5 separate regions of the Homo sapiens genome follow, and regions 1, 2, 3 and 5 are each linked to region 4. Evidence: promoter capture Hi-C in 16 types of primary human blood cells and fetal thymus (Javierre and others, 2016). All regions are on one chromosome and are shown on one strand. The core of a region is centred on a gene start or on the middle of the fragment in contact, and the rest is flanking DNA. Distances in the headings are between cores, read along the strand shown. Region 1 overlaps IL2RB-AS1 (IL2RB and C1QTNF6 antisense RNA 1). Region 2 overlaps FOXRED2 (FAD dependent oxidoreductase domain containing 2). Region 3 overlaps MYH9 (myosin heavy chain 9). Region 4 holds the start of IFT27 (intraflagellar transport 27). Region 5 has its middle 9.9 kb from the start of SSTR3.

The links. Contacts are between HindIII fragments. The CHiCAGO score rates a contact against its expected background, and 5 or more counts as called.
Region 1: a contact is called between a fragment that was not itself captured here and the fragment with the promoter of IFT27 in region 4, in 1 of 17 cell types (endothelial precursors). The highest score is 6.5, in endothelial precursors.
Region 2: a contact is called between a fragment that was not itself captured here and the fragment with the promoter of IFT27 in region 4, in 3 of 17 cell types (M1 macrophages, M0 macrophages and M2 macrophages). The highest score is 6.2, in M1 macrophages.
Region 3: a contact is called between a fragment that was not itself captured here and the fragment with the promoter of IFT27 in region 4, in 1 of 17 cell types (M0 macrophages). The highest score is 5.4, in M0 macrophages.
Region 5: a contact is called between a fragment that was not itself captured here and the fragment with the promoter of IFT27 in region 4, in 2 of 17 cell types (naive CD4 T cells and total CD8 T cells). The highest score is 5.6, in naive CD4 T cells.

What each region holds. Positions count from the first base shown.
Region 1 is chr22:37,175,769-37,178,468 of GRCh38, forward strand. All of the region lies in intron 1 of IL2RB-AS1 (IL2RB and C1QTNF6 antisense RNA 1), which reads left to right. Among named protein-coding and RNA genes, the nearest start is that of IL2RB-AS1, 10 kb to the left of the region's middle. The HindIII fragment of the contact is 3,052 bases long and covers 1-2,700 here.
Region 2 is chr22:36,492,042-36,494,741 of GRCh38, forward strand. It overlaps FOXRED2 (FAD dependent oxidoreductase domain containing 2), which reads right to left. Exons shown (of 9, transcript NM_001102371.2): 8 at 1,592-1,762. Among named protein-coding and RNA genes, the nearest start is that of TXN2, 12 kb to the left of the region's middle. The HindIII fragment of the contact is 608 bases long and covers 993-1,600 here.
Region 3 is chr22:36,331,700-36,334,399 of GRCh38, forward strand. The region is part of intron 3 of MYH9 (myosin heavy chain 9); the gene reads right to left. Among named protein-coding and RNA genes, the nearest start is that of MIR6819, 46 kb to the left of the region's middle. RefSeq lists enhancers at 1-537, 1-468, 12-61, 102-161, 382-621 and silencers at 1,042-1,131, 1,182-1,231. The HindIII fragment of the contact is 1,732 bases long and covers 548-2,279 here.
Region 4 is chr22:36,774,756-36,777,455 of GRCh38, forward strand. It overlaps IFT27 (intraflagellar transport 27), which reads right to left and starts at 1,364. Exons shown (of 7, transcript NM_001177701.3): 1 at 919-1,364. The coding sequence starts at 952. RefSeq lists silencers at 926-985, 1,116-1,165 and enhancers at 1,064-1,627, 1,406-1,665, 2,193-2,700. The HindIII fragment of the contact is 1,042 bases long and covers 595-1,636 here.
Region 5 is chr22:37,221,049-37,223,748 of GRCh38, forward strand. No RefSeq gene overlaps it. Among named protein-coding and RNA genes, the nearest start is that of SSTR3, 9.9 kb to the left of the region's middle. RefSeq lists a silencer at 1,735-1,874. The HindIII fragment of the contact is 340 bases long and covers 1,222-1,561 here.

The sequences.
Region 1 (2,700 bases), core at 45-2,544, 400 kb after region 4:
ACCCTAGAAAGGCAGCTGAGACCCCAGGGAAGAAATGGCCCCAGGGTGTATCCGGGCAGATAGGGCTGGGTGAGACAGCCCTCAGAGAGGCAAGGAACTTGTGTACAGGAAGCACCCAGGTGTCCCAAGAGGGATGAGGACCCGGGAGGCGCTGTGGGAGTGAGCATGAATCAGGAGGTATGGGAGTGGGACCCGGAGCCCAGAGCAGATGGGACATTGCCAAACTCGCAGAGGAAACGTGGACATGGAGTGCCCCAGCTCCTCCCTGCTGGCAGGGAGGGGCACTTAGATGCAGCCGCAGGGAAATATCGGGGGGCGGGGAGGAATCCCAGCTGCCAAAATCACATTTCTTTGACTTCAGCCCATGGAAATGCCTAATGGGAGTGAAATTTACTCAGAGAACTAAAGCACGGCCTGTTTTGTATACATCTGCATTTGTGGCATCCATTCCTTCCCACCAGAAGCGAAGAGCAGCCAGCCACCTGCAGGAACCGCCCCACCCTCCCACTCTACTGCTGACCTGCAGAGGGTCACCTCTTTCCTCCACGCGCCTACAGCCAGCCCTCTCCAATGACTCCTTCCTCCCGTGAAGCAACCCTACTTCTGCCGCCAATGCCACCACCTCCAGGCTGCAACTCCACAGCCCACCTGACTGTATGCTACGACCCCAGCCCCCAGGTGCTGGTCACCACCGCCTCCTGTCCTCCTGGGTCTGAAGGCCAGCTGCTCCAAAGCCACGCCAGCTTAGCCCCACGCACCCTTGACTCGTGTCCTGGAAATCCCTCCTTCCTCTCTGGCTCCTGCGGCCACCCGCTGGCCTCACCCATAATGTTCTTGACATCTGTTTCTGGTCATGTTAAGTTTCTGCCTGTGTTTCTCCTTTCCTCCAGACGCACACGTGGCAGTATGTGGCTACTGTGACGGGCCTGCCAAGTGGAGGAGGAGGCGGGGAGAGGAGAGGGGGGCTGCAGGGCCTCCTCCCTGGCCAGAGACTGTTGCTTCTCACTTCGCCCCGCACCTTTCCCACGATGCTCAGAGAGGTCACTCATCGAACCCATGCCATTTGAGCACGGCTGTGTGCCAGACACTGCTAATACCGAGATACATCGTCACGTGGAGTCCTCTATCGGAACAAAGCCAAGACTCACAGAGAGGAAGTGACAAGCCCCGGTCATACTATAGGAAAAATAATGTTGTGCGCCCTGAACCAGGAGCTGGTCTAAGGAAAGGGTGTGCTGGGGTCAGAACCCGCAGCCTGGCTCCAGATTCCATACATGCCGGCGTCTGAGCACTCACCACCTCTCTCAGGCTTCCCCAGCCCTGTCCCGTACACTTAGTATTCTCTGGGACAACTGCTGCTAATTTCACGTTTTCTGTCCCACTGCCACTTCTCCATGGGTCCTGGTTTGGGGTTCTGAAAATAGCCATGCCCCTGCAGCCTTGGATACCCTGAAGTCCTCAGTGGGGTAAGAGAGAAGGGCTTTTGCATCTGATATTACAGATAAGGACAATATGGGGCCCAAAAAGGCTAAACGATTTACCCAGCACCCTCCAGTCCTCCAGCCAAACAAGGGACTCTCCTGGGCAGAGCTGCCACAGGAGCCCACCTCCTGGCACCCCGGCCTGCTGGCTTCCCACTGGCTAACGAAAGCCTTGTGGGAGAAACACCCTGGTAGACCCTTAATCCAAGCTGGACCCCGTCCCCCCAACAACCCCCAGCTGCCCTCCTGCCTCCTCTCTGCTGTTGAATCTCTCACCAACTTCAAAGTCAATTGGGGACATGCCTCCCCCTCCAGGATGACATCATGATTCACCCAGTTTCTAGGCGTTCTATGTCCTCCCCTGGACCATGGCACAGGCCCCCTCACTGCCTCCAGCTTCACCCTCTGCAGCCTGTGCTCCACCTGGCTGCAGAGTGATCTGCCTCTTAAAGGCACCCCAGCACCTAAGAAAGAGGTCAATCCTAGACTTAGCCTGACATTCCAGGCCTTTCCTGTCTCAAACCCCATTCTGCTCTCCTTGCCTCCTTTCCAGACATCTATCCAACCTACTGGTCTCTCCCACTGCCCAGAGCATAGACTACATTGGTCCGCCTGCAACCCTTTCCTCTCATCAGCTCCTTGCCCCATGTCAAGTGCCTTTGAGACTCCTATTCACCCTCCAAGGCCCTTCCCACATGTCCCCTCCACTAAGAAGCCTTCCCAGATCGCCACATAAGAATTATCTACTCCCTTCCCCACACTCCCATGTGGCAGAGGAGCTCCTGCGCTCATCTCCCCAGGAAGGCTGAACACTTCCAGACACAACCTAACCTAGCCCATGAAATGGATCCAGCCCATCTATCCAGACAGCAGGTCACCAGGGACACCATCAAGCTAAAATCCCTGCACCAGCTCTGCCCCTGATTTTAACTCAGGCTCCCATCTAATCACCCTTTCCCCCTTAATCTTCCCTGCACTTGCCCCGGGCCACTCAACAAAACGATGGCAAGGTGGGGGTGAGGTCGCCCTGTCTGGGGTACACTCCTTGTCAGGGGTATTTTTCATTTCCCACGGCTGCTTCCCCTCTTGACCACCCTTTCCTTCCCCTTCCTCATTGCCTAACGTTTCAGGCGGAAAACGTTTTCAAAATATGTAACTTAAAGGGATTGCCCCAGAGGTGATTACATGGGCATTCAGCCAGCTTGCTGAGGTCATCAGT
Region 2 (2,700 bases), core at 47-2,546, 280 kb before region 4:
CATGGGTGACCAGGCTGAAAGGTGCTCCAGAAATATGACTTCCTGTTTATTTCTGACTCTTAGCATGGAGGCCCCTGGGAGGCCAGGCCATGGCAAGCCTCTCCAAGCGGGTAAGAGAGCAGATGAGGAAGAGGACAGCGGGAAGACTGGGAGGGCAGCAAGGTGGCTGTTTGGCAGGCACCACCTTCTGACAACATCATCCCTTCTGCAGGGGGCTCAGATGCTCAGCAGAATCTGGGGCCAGCACTAACAGCTGCACATCAGCTACAGTAACAGAGGGACGGCTGCCACTATGCCAGCTGGCCGCCTGCTGGGCGGATTCTCTCCAGTCCAAGGCAGCAGCACACAGTGGCCTGTACAGTCAAACAGTGTCTAGAAAGTGGGAGACAGGAGGCTAAAGGGCCTGGGACAATGCATTGGTGGGACCCACAACTCAGGGTGGGAATTCACTCCCTCACACACCCTGGCATTTTTGTTGTTGTTGGTTTTGAGATGGAGTCTCGCTCTGTTGCCCAGGCTGGAGTGCAGTGGCATGATCTCGGGTCACTGCAACATCCGCCTTCCGGGTTCAAGCGATTCTCCTGCCTCAGCCTCCCGAGTAGGTAGCTGGGATTACAGGCACCCACCACTGCCCCCAGCTAATTTTTCTACTTTTAGTAGAAATGGGGTTTCACCATGTTGGCCAGGGCTGGTCTCGAACTCCTGACCTCAGGTGATCCACCCACCTCGGCCTCCCAAAGTGTTGAGATTACAGGCGTGAGCCACTGCACCTGGCCTAAAAGTGTATTTCTTGAGAAGGTGTGCATTTGCTTCTGTGATTTCTATAGCTCAATGATCTCATGAAGTTTGGCCCCAAATTTACATAAGCAGGGCCTACTGGTTGAATATTTTCAGAGATTTTTCTCTCCCACTCTATCTAGGGCCAAAACCATGCATGTCATCTATCTCCTCCTTTGGAGGGTTTTGGCTCCCAGCTTCCCTACTGAGATCCAAGCTTTATTGGAGTGTCTCTAAACAGGCCTCCCATCCTGCTCCAGCTCTGTCTTCCCACCCATACCTGGCCCTGGCGCCTTCCCATGGCGCCTGGCCCTGCTAATCCTTTTGAAAAGACATATTATCAGCTGGGTGCGGTGGCTCACACTTGTAATCCCAACACTTCAGCAGGCTGAGGCAGGCGGATCACGAGGTCAGTTCGAGACCAGCCTGGCCAATATGGTGAAACCCCATCTCTACTAAAAAATAAAAAAATTAGTTGGGCATGGTGGCATGTGCCTGTAGTCCCAGCTTCTTGGGAGGCTGAGGCAGGAGAATCGCTTGAACCCGGGAGGCGGAGGTTGTAGTGAGCTGAGATTGCGCCACTACACTCCAGCCTGGGCAACAGAGCGAGACTCCATCTCAAAAAAAAAAAAAAGAAGACATATTATCCATTATTTTTAGGTGAGTTGTAATTTAACCCACGGCATTGTCGGGAACAGTAGTCTGGGGTTTGGATTTCCAGATATGGGTCCTGAAACTCCACGGGTCTTGGGTCTCTGTGACCTTTCTTCAACCTGGAGCTCAGACCCTTTGTCTTTCTGGGAGCTTAAGTTACCTGCATAGAAGCTTCGCAAATCGGTGTCCAAACAGTTCTCCAGGAAGCGCCTCAGAGGTAGGATGTGCCCGATCGGGGCAGTCCAGTCTGTTAAGAAGTCTTCCACGATGTGATGGATGGCCGTGGGCCGAGGCAGGGGCCAGTGTGCAGGGCGGAACCTCACCTCCTGTTCTGTGGGGAGGAGAGAGGGGGCCATGTCAGAGCTGTGAGGCTGGGCTTCCCCTCCTCGGGCCGACACAGCACGGATCCCACACAGCCCAAACACTTCCCTCGTTCACTCGTGCTCGGCTTTCCCGACAGCCTCCTATGCTGGGCTGTGGTCAGACTGTTCAAGAGCCACCTGCAGATATTTGAAAGGCTGCCATGAGGAAGAGGAACTAGGCTTTTCCCTTGTGGTTTCGGAAGGCAGTGCTGAAGCTAACAACGTGAGGCTGGCGTTTCCCTAAGACTCACATGGACTGAGATCTACTGTGGCTGCTTTTTATTTTGTATTATTATTTGTTGGAGACAGTCTCGCTCTATTGCCCAGGCTGTCATGCAGTGGCACAATTTAGGCTCACCGCAACCTCTACCTCCTGGGTTCAAGCGATTCTTGTGCCTCTGCCTCCAGAGTAGCTGGGATTACAGGTGCCCGCCACCACACCGAGCTCATATTTTACATTTTTCGTAGAGATGGGGTTTCTAGTCTCTACCATGTTGGCCAGGCTGGTCTCAAACTCCTGACCTCAGGTGACCCACCCGCCTCAGCCTCCCAAAGTGCTGGGATTACAGGCATGAGCCACTGCGCCTGGCTGTGGCTGCTTTCAAACTGGCCTTTCTCTGAGAAGACTCAGATAGAGGCGAGGGGTCTCAGCACTCATCTAGTTCAGCTTCTCCCTGGTGTGGGCTCCCTTCTGTGGTGTTCCAGTCAGATGGCCATCGAGTCAAGACTTGGCCGTCGCTATTCTGGGAAACCTGAATTTGGAGGTGACCAATTCCCCCACTGAACAGCTTTAACTCTTAGTGCCTCCTTTTTCTTTTTTTTTGAGACAGAGTCTCGCTCTGTCTCCCAGGCTAGAGTGCAGTGGCACAATCTTGGCTCACTGCAGCCTCTGCCTCCTGGGTTCAAG
Region 3 (2,700 bases), core at 164-2,663, 440 kb before region 4:
GACTGACTCATCACCCAGCTCCCAAGATCACACCTCCCGAGGTTCCAGCATGGAGCAGCTCTCTCGGGCTCCACCTGGGAGAGGTCCCTGCAGGACCCCATCTTCGGCTCCACTGGGCTTCTTGAGAAATGGGTATGGGCCAAGAAAGAAAAACAGGAAAAAGGGCAGTTTCAGGTTGGACAACATGCCCACGTTGGGTGAGACTGATGGGATAATCTGAGACAAATGGGACCAAAACTTTCCACCACCAGGGAGTCTTCTGCTTTCAGGGAAACTCCAGAGTGGCCCCTGGGGGGTGGCTTGCTATATGTGTTGGCACTGTGAGCCCTGCCCTGCGTTGCCAGGATGGCTTGATCAGAGTTGCACAAATGGGGCTGAGAACTCAGGTCTCTGGAAACCTCACGCACCCCAGGACTCCCCTCCATCGAACACCCCTATGAGCACAGCACTCGGCACCTCCCGCAGGCCTGCCTCAGTGCTGCAAAGAAAGGGCCGCGACACTCTCATGACGAGAAGCTCTGCTTCTCCACAGCCAGCTCAATTCACAAGCTTGGGTTACAAGTCTTTGGGAGGCAAACAGAGAGGTGAAGAAAAGCAAGTGCAAAATGATGCTTCATATTAGCAGAGGCTGCAGATCTGTGCCGAGTGGGGTGGAGCTTCCTGGCAGCCTGCCTGCCTAGCAATCTGCCAGCAAAGGAGGAAGCCCCTTCCGTCGCTCCCAGGCACACAATGTGGTCATGGGCGAGTGTGCCCTCCAGGCCACCACGGTAGGCCCAGACCAAGGGACATGCCTGCTCAGCAGCATCCACACCAGAAGCCAGTTCGACTCGGCCCAGTGCCTCTGCCCCATAGCCCCTGTGATCTCCCAGGTGGAACCTGGTTTGAACCTGCTGAGACCCAAGTCCCCACTTATAGGAGGCAGAGAATGGGTAGCCCTCCCCCTCCAGACACTCTGGATAATTAAAAAAAAAAAAAAAAAAAAAAAAAAAAACCTCAAGGTATTGCTCTTAACTTTCATTATGTCAGACTAAGCGAGGCCCCAAACAAGCCTTCTCTTGGCCAAAATGCATTAGGAAAACACAGGTAAGTTCCCAGCACACAGGCAAATCTGCCAGAAACAGCACTGCTGTTTCTGTGGGTGGGGCCAGGAGGGGGAAACTTCTCCTTCTGGGGTTGTTGCCAAGGCAGCTCCAACAGGTTTGTCAGACTGGAGGGAAATTCAAAACCACATACGAGTGCTGACCACCCACAGCACATGCCACCGGGACACTCCCAGTCCGGTTCCGCCTTGCTCCTACCTAACATTTCCCTTGCGAAAAGGAAAGACAAAGCAGGAGGGGCCCCTGTTGACTTCTGCAGAGGGCTGGATCAACAGGGAATAAGAGGGAAGGAGCTGGGACACACACAGGGAGCATGGCAGACACAGCCAGGCACTGCTCATGACAAACTCAGCTCCCTGTTGGAGCACAAACAGGCCTGCAAAGACAGCAACCAGCTTTGTGAAACTCCTTTTGATGAGTCAAACGTGCTTGAGAGCACCAGGGACATCAATGGTAGGAGGTGAACAGTTAACAGCGCATGAACACGTTGCCTCGGAGGAGCGGTCGGTAGAAGGAAAGGCATGTCGGTGACTGTTAGGCTAGGATTCACTCCTGGAGCACGGCTCACGCTTCCTCTCCTTTCAGCTTAGACCTGTGCCCTGTTGTATCTGTGGACCAGCTCATGTGGAAGAGACAAGATCTTCAGGAAGAATCCCAAAGCCAGGTGGGAATGACATCCTGAGCCCCCATCAGTACTGTCTGTTTGCCAAAAGAAAACCTGGGGTCTCAAGAGTTTATGGAGTTTATGATCAAGGTCCACACGGGGCTGACAGCCTTGGTCAAGACTAAACAAATTTGACAGAAGCCACGTGCAGAATCCCAACTTTTATACCTGCAGCTTTTCAGTTCATTTATCTTTCTTTAGTTGTAGGGAATTACTTTGGTTCTCAACTGATAACTTCATTCCAGAAATCAGGTATGTAAAAGAAAGCAACTCCTTTCTCTGAACACACTGTTGTTCAGCCCTGACAAACTGGGACACAGTTCAACTGAAGTCTCTAAGCCAGAGCTGGAGAGAACAGGAAAAACGGGCTGGTAGGTGACACTCACCAGGCAGCAAGAGAACTCGTCACGGGAGGCCAAAAGCACGAAGTGGCTTAGTGATTAGGGATTTGATGTGAGTTTTTGTTGTTGGTTTATTTCAGGGGATGGGGAGCAGAAACAAAAAACACTGGGCAAAGCTTCCAAACACCCCCACCCAAAATTTCAGGTTCTAAGAGGCCACTTCCTTTTTATCTCCCGCTCAGTGGGCCCAGAGCAAAGCATGGTGGGCCTGTTGGGTTGGATTTACAAAAAAAAAAAAAAGTAAGCCTAACGCTGAATCCTTGAAAAGGGCCCGTTAACTGCAGATTCCTCTTCTAGAAAGAAGAAGTTCTAGAAATGAGACTGACAGGCAGGACCATGGGTAGTTCAGCAGCCTCATGCTGGGGCCGGGCTTTCCTTCCTGGAGGAGCAGCACAAAGCAGCCAGCTCGCATCAGCTCGAGGACAGCGCCTCCCGGCTGCAGCCATGGTGTTGGGTGGTGGCCCAGGGCCTGCTTCCCACAGCACCTGTCTGGTCCACCAGCATCCCAGGGAACAGAAAAGTGTCTCAGGGCTGC
Region 4 (2,700 bases), core at 114-2,613:
GAGCCGAGATTGCGCCACTGCCCTCCAGCCTGGGCAACAGCGTGAGACTCCGTCTCAAAAAAAAAAAAAAAAAAGAAAAACAATCCAGTACCTAGCCCAGTGTGCTATGGTGAGACGATTACATGAAATATGTGTGCTTCACATGCAGTAAGCACTCAGTAACATGCATATGTGTTTCGCAGTCTATAATCCAAAATATTGTTTTTCTAAATGTGCAGACTGATACAAGGGGTACACTACAAATGTGCATGCCACATATTCACATATTCATCCATTCTAAAAGTATTTATTGAGTACCTACTATGTTCCAGGCATTGTTCTGGGTGCTTGGGATGTATCAGTCAACAAAACAAAGATTCCTGCCTTTGGGAGACTCAACATTTATGCCCTTCTTGGAGTGGGGCAGCACAGTAACTTTGGGTCTTAAAGACAACACACAAGTGCCTTTTGCAAACTCTGGTCACTACACTCAGGTCACCGTTATCAGAGGGGGTGAGGTCGGGGGAAAAATCCCATAGTAAAGACTACCAAAGTCACTGATGCCTAACTTTGGGGTACAGTATATGTTTAGCTGAAGCACTCAAGGTTTGCTTAAGCTTTGTTTGTTTTGTTTTGTTTTAACAAGTCTGCTTCTCCAGAGTTGTAACTAGTGATTTTTTAACGAGTCACCTCAACTGGTGAAGGTGGTCTCAGAGTATGTGACAGGGAGCAGGGGGAAATCCACTGGAGCTGCGAAGTGCCCTGGAAGATCATTCTTCCACGCCTAACGTAATTTACTGTATCAGTAATTGCAGTAACTCGCCTTTGGGAGAGAGAAAGGAAAAGGTAGGCAATTTAGGTGAACAAAAGCTCTGGATGAATTATGAAGGCTCTGGACTCCAGAGACCACCGTATTCAAGCGCAAGTTTTCAGACTCACCTGCCAGGATGCATTTGGCTGCCAGCTTCACCATGGTAACCAACACTCCCGCGAGCCGTACCCAGAGGACAAGAGCGGCTGCTAGAGACGCGAGTGGGTGGGCTTCGGGCCCTGGGCTGGCCTGGGACGGGAAGGTGGGGAGGGGAGGGCTGATCTCAAGGGTCAGTGGCCGCGACGGGACTGGGGATGACCGAGCCCGGCCCTTCTGGGCCGGGGGCGGATATCGGGCGCTGGGGGCGGGTGGGCAGGGGAGGGCTCCAGGTGGGCCCGGCTCGAGGCCTGACACGGCAGTCTGAAAAGGTGCAAGCGAGCGGACACGGCCTGTGCTCCCCGCCCAGCCCCTCAGCACAGCCCTACCCAGAGGGTTCAAGGAAGGACGATCCGGCTCTCCTCCGATCACAAGTACCGGGCCGGATGCACTCTCCAAGCAACCATAGCCCACCTGCCCCGCCTCCTCCTCCTCCTCGCTGACCCTCGATTGGTTGCCGCCAAAAGCTCCCACCCTCAAGGTCTCACAAAAATCCAATGGGAGTAGAGAGCTGGGATAACAGCCTTTTCTTGAGATGCAATTCGTAGAGTTATCAGTTCTTCAAGTTCAGTCTGCTTGACGAGTGGTTGTAATTGACGTCAACCAGCTTTATATCCCGCCCCCGCTGCGCCTGAGAGTCCCGAGATAAAGAAGCCTCCACGTCAAGCAGTCAGAAGCGGTGACAAGAGAAGCTTTCTGATTGGTCAGAGTCTGGCTTGACCCATCTTCGGGAGGAATAGGGATTCGCCACTCCCGCTGTCCTTCTAGAAGTGGGTTCGCCTACAATGGGGCAGGTTGGGCTCTAGGCGGTCTGGAGCGGCGCCTGCGCAGTGGGCCAGGCCGCCGCTGTAGAGGTCGTTTTGACTTGCTCTGACTTCGCGCGGTTCTCGCGGCTTCCCCGGTTCCCGGGTTCTGCACAGCGCGGCTATTAAAGTGCATGGAGAAGTGCAGTCCTTGCCCCGCATCCCGCAGGGAAATCTCATTTTAAAAGCTCAAAGATGTAATGAGCGTTAAAATCTAAAATATGAAGGTGTTTTATTAAAGTGATGTTTGTGAACAAAGGGAGAACAAATACACTTTGATGGGGCTAAGCGGTGAGACTCGGAAACTTGAAGTCGTACTTTGCTCTTAGTCCATTTACTCTCTGCAAAAGGAGAATGCATCACTAACCTCGTTTGCCCGTCACCCAGGGAGGCTCTCTGTACGCGTTTACTGGGTTGGGGGTGCCTCTTGCACGTGGTTAGGGGGTCAGAGACCTAAATCCCTGGCCTGGACAAGTCACCTCATCCCTCAGCCTCAGGATGGGCCTAGGAGAACCCGCCTTGTGGGGTGGTTGTGGAGATGGAAGGAGAGAAACGTATGAGTGCCTGGGAGATAGTAGGTGCACACGTGATTGTGGGGTGGATGGGAGAGCGGAAGCTTATCTGGACAGATTTGGTTTATCATCACTGTCACTGGTTGGCCGAATGTACCCCTTGTTCTCACTTTCTCAGGGCCCCTGGGATTCTGATGGCTGATGCTGAAGGGAAGAGCAGCCCCTCAGCAAAGGTGCCTGTGCGAAAGTTCCACATTCCCTCCAGACACCTAGAACATTCCACCTCTCCGCCACTCTGCATCTCAGAGTGGCTGCCAGCCTTGTGTGGGGGAATAAACACACACACTCTATGAATGGCTGATGGTTTCAGCCCCGAATCCAGAGTAAATGCAAGTTGTCTGAGATGTTCTTTCCTTGGGATTCATTCCTGGCGCTACGG
Region 5 (2,700 bases), core at 142-2,641, 450 kb after region 4:
GGCCTTGTAGGTGAGGGAGGAGGTTTCGTGCCAAATGTCCAGAGATACCACTGGACGGTGTTATACAAGGGAGTGGTCTGATCTGATTGGTAGTTTAACGCGATCACTCTGGCCACTCCGTGGAGATAAACCATGGCCAAGGGCAAGAGTGAAAACAAGAAGGCCAGTCAGGAGGTGTGAGCATTAGGATTGGTGCTCAGTTGGTGCTCAGCAAATATTTCCTTTCCTCCAAGTCTGGGAAGAGTTCCTGTCCCTGCCCCATTGGTGGTGTTGGGCTCGGCCATGTGAAGCATGAGCAGAGGCCTTAAACACCTCATGGTTTGGCTTGGCTTCTCATGCTCCTGTGATCCACAATGAGAAGGACATGCCCCAGGGAATGCTGGTCTAAGGAGGATGAGAGACAGGTGGAGCCGACCCACACACACCCACAGCCAGGACCGAGACCACCCATCCCCAGCCCGAAGCCAAGTCACCAGCCAAACCCTCCTAAGTCAGCAGACCCACTGTCCACCTACAACTAGTGAGTGTGAGAATACAGGCCTGCTGCTTCTTGCCTCTGGATTTCAAGGCAGTTTGGTTTGTTACACAGCATTATTGTACCAATTGCTGACTATGACAGGAGGCTACCACAGGGAGGATACAGTGCTGGTTTGGACATTAGAAACCATGACAATGCAGAGAAGGGGGTCACTGAGGAGATTGTCGGTGATGGGTTGGAAGTGGAAGGTGAGGGAGAAGGTGTCAAGGAGGACTCCCAGGTTTTTGATTTGAGAGCCTGGATGCATTTACTGAGTGATGAAGGCTGGGCGGGGCGTGTGAGTTTGAAATGCTCAGGAGACATCCAAGCAGAAGGGCCATTTCCTGGGGCTCTCTGCTGGCTGGACAGCCTCCCCACTGGCCTGTGAGCTCCTGAGAGCGGGCTCATGCTTGACCCACCCCCAAGCCTTGGGCTTGACACACGGTCTCAATAACTATTTGCTGAAGGATTCAATGATTGAATAAGTCTGTGGTTCTATCAGCATTTTTGACTGCACAGTTGTTTGTAAATGAGGAAAATCCCCAGGCCACCTGGTGGCAAATGGAGTAGAGGCAGAGAGAGGGAAGACAGGAGGCCAGTGAGGAGGCTGTGGCTACTGTCCAGGGGAGACATGGCAGGGGTTAGGTTAGGGAGCAGCCGTGGGGACAAGGGGTGGATTTAATAGACAGAGGCTGAATTGTCCAAGCTTGGTGGCCAGTGAATGCCAGGGTGAAAGGATCGGAGGAGTTTGGGGGACCCCAGGCCTCCGCTTTGAAGAAGGGACAAGGAACAGCCAGTCTCTAGAATAGAAAGCACCAGATGAAGTGGCCTTGTCTGGCAGGCACTTTCCTCAACCACCAGGCCATGATTTCATTGCAAGAAGGGGCGAAGTGAGGCATGGAACCTGCTGCCAGCCCAGGCCTGGCACTAGGTGGGCACTTGGGAGGGGTTGTTGTCACATGAAAGAGCAAACCATGGTGTCAGCTCCTGCCCACAACCGGCAGGTCTTCCTGTTTCAAAACAGGTTCTCATTGACTTCCCATAAGCTTTCTCTTTCCTATATGAGGGGCCTCCATCCTCAGCCAATTTGCAGAGCAGAAACAAGTGGCTCACCCCACTTGGAGTGGCTGCTGGGAACAGTTATACAGTGGGAAGAGCACTGCGCTAGGAGTCCTACCGCTTCAGTGACAAATGCTGTCAGCTTACCGTAACAAAAGGTGTGACCAACGGTGACATTAACAATTGGGTGGTTTCATTTTCTTCAGTTCCCATAACAAGGCAGCTGTTAGCATTGGCTCAGCTGCCCACTGCTGCTGCCAGGAACTCACGCTCCTTTTATCTTTCTGCTCATCCCCTCTCAGCACGGGGCCTTGTATCTTCATGTTTGTGGCTTCAAGCTCACAAGACGGCTGCTGCAGCTCCAGACATCCCACCTGTCATTTTTTTTTTTTTTTTTTTTTTGAGTCTTGCTCTGTCACCCAGGCTGGAGTGCAGTGGCGCAATCTCGGCTCACTGCAAGCTCCGCCTCCCGGGTTCACACAATTCTCCTGCCTCAGCCTCCCGCATAGCTGGGACTACAGGCGCCCACCACCACACCCGGCTATTTTTTTGTATTTTTTAGTAGAGACGGGGTTTCACCGTGTTAGCCAGGATGATCTCGATCTCCTGACCTCGTGATCCGCCCACCTCAGCCTCCCAAAGTGCTGGGATTACAGGCGTGAGCCACCGCGCCCGGCCTGGGCCTGTCATTTTTTTAAGGAAGAAAACAACTTTCACAGAAGCCATCTCTCCCGCTGACTTTCATTCACATCGGCTTCTAGGCCAGAACTATGTGGCCTGAAAACCCCAGTGACAAAACCAGCTGGAAAAACGAGTATTTTGTTGGTGTTAGGTACGGTGCTGCTATGCACAAAACTAGGATTCTGTTAGCAAGGAGGATGGGAACAGAGGGAGAGGGTGGGAAAGGACAGCATCTGCCTTGTCAATTTGAGCCAAACCTGTGCCCTCCCGCATCCTCATCTCCTCTTCTGCAAACCGTGGCTAAGAGTACCTATCTTGGAAGGCTATTAGAACATTAAATGAGATAATATGTGCATGGGAGCCAAGACAATGAGTAAAGGAAGTTATTTACTGACATTATTATCATATAGAAGCAAAGATTGTCTCTACTGGGGTCGACCTAA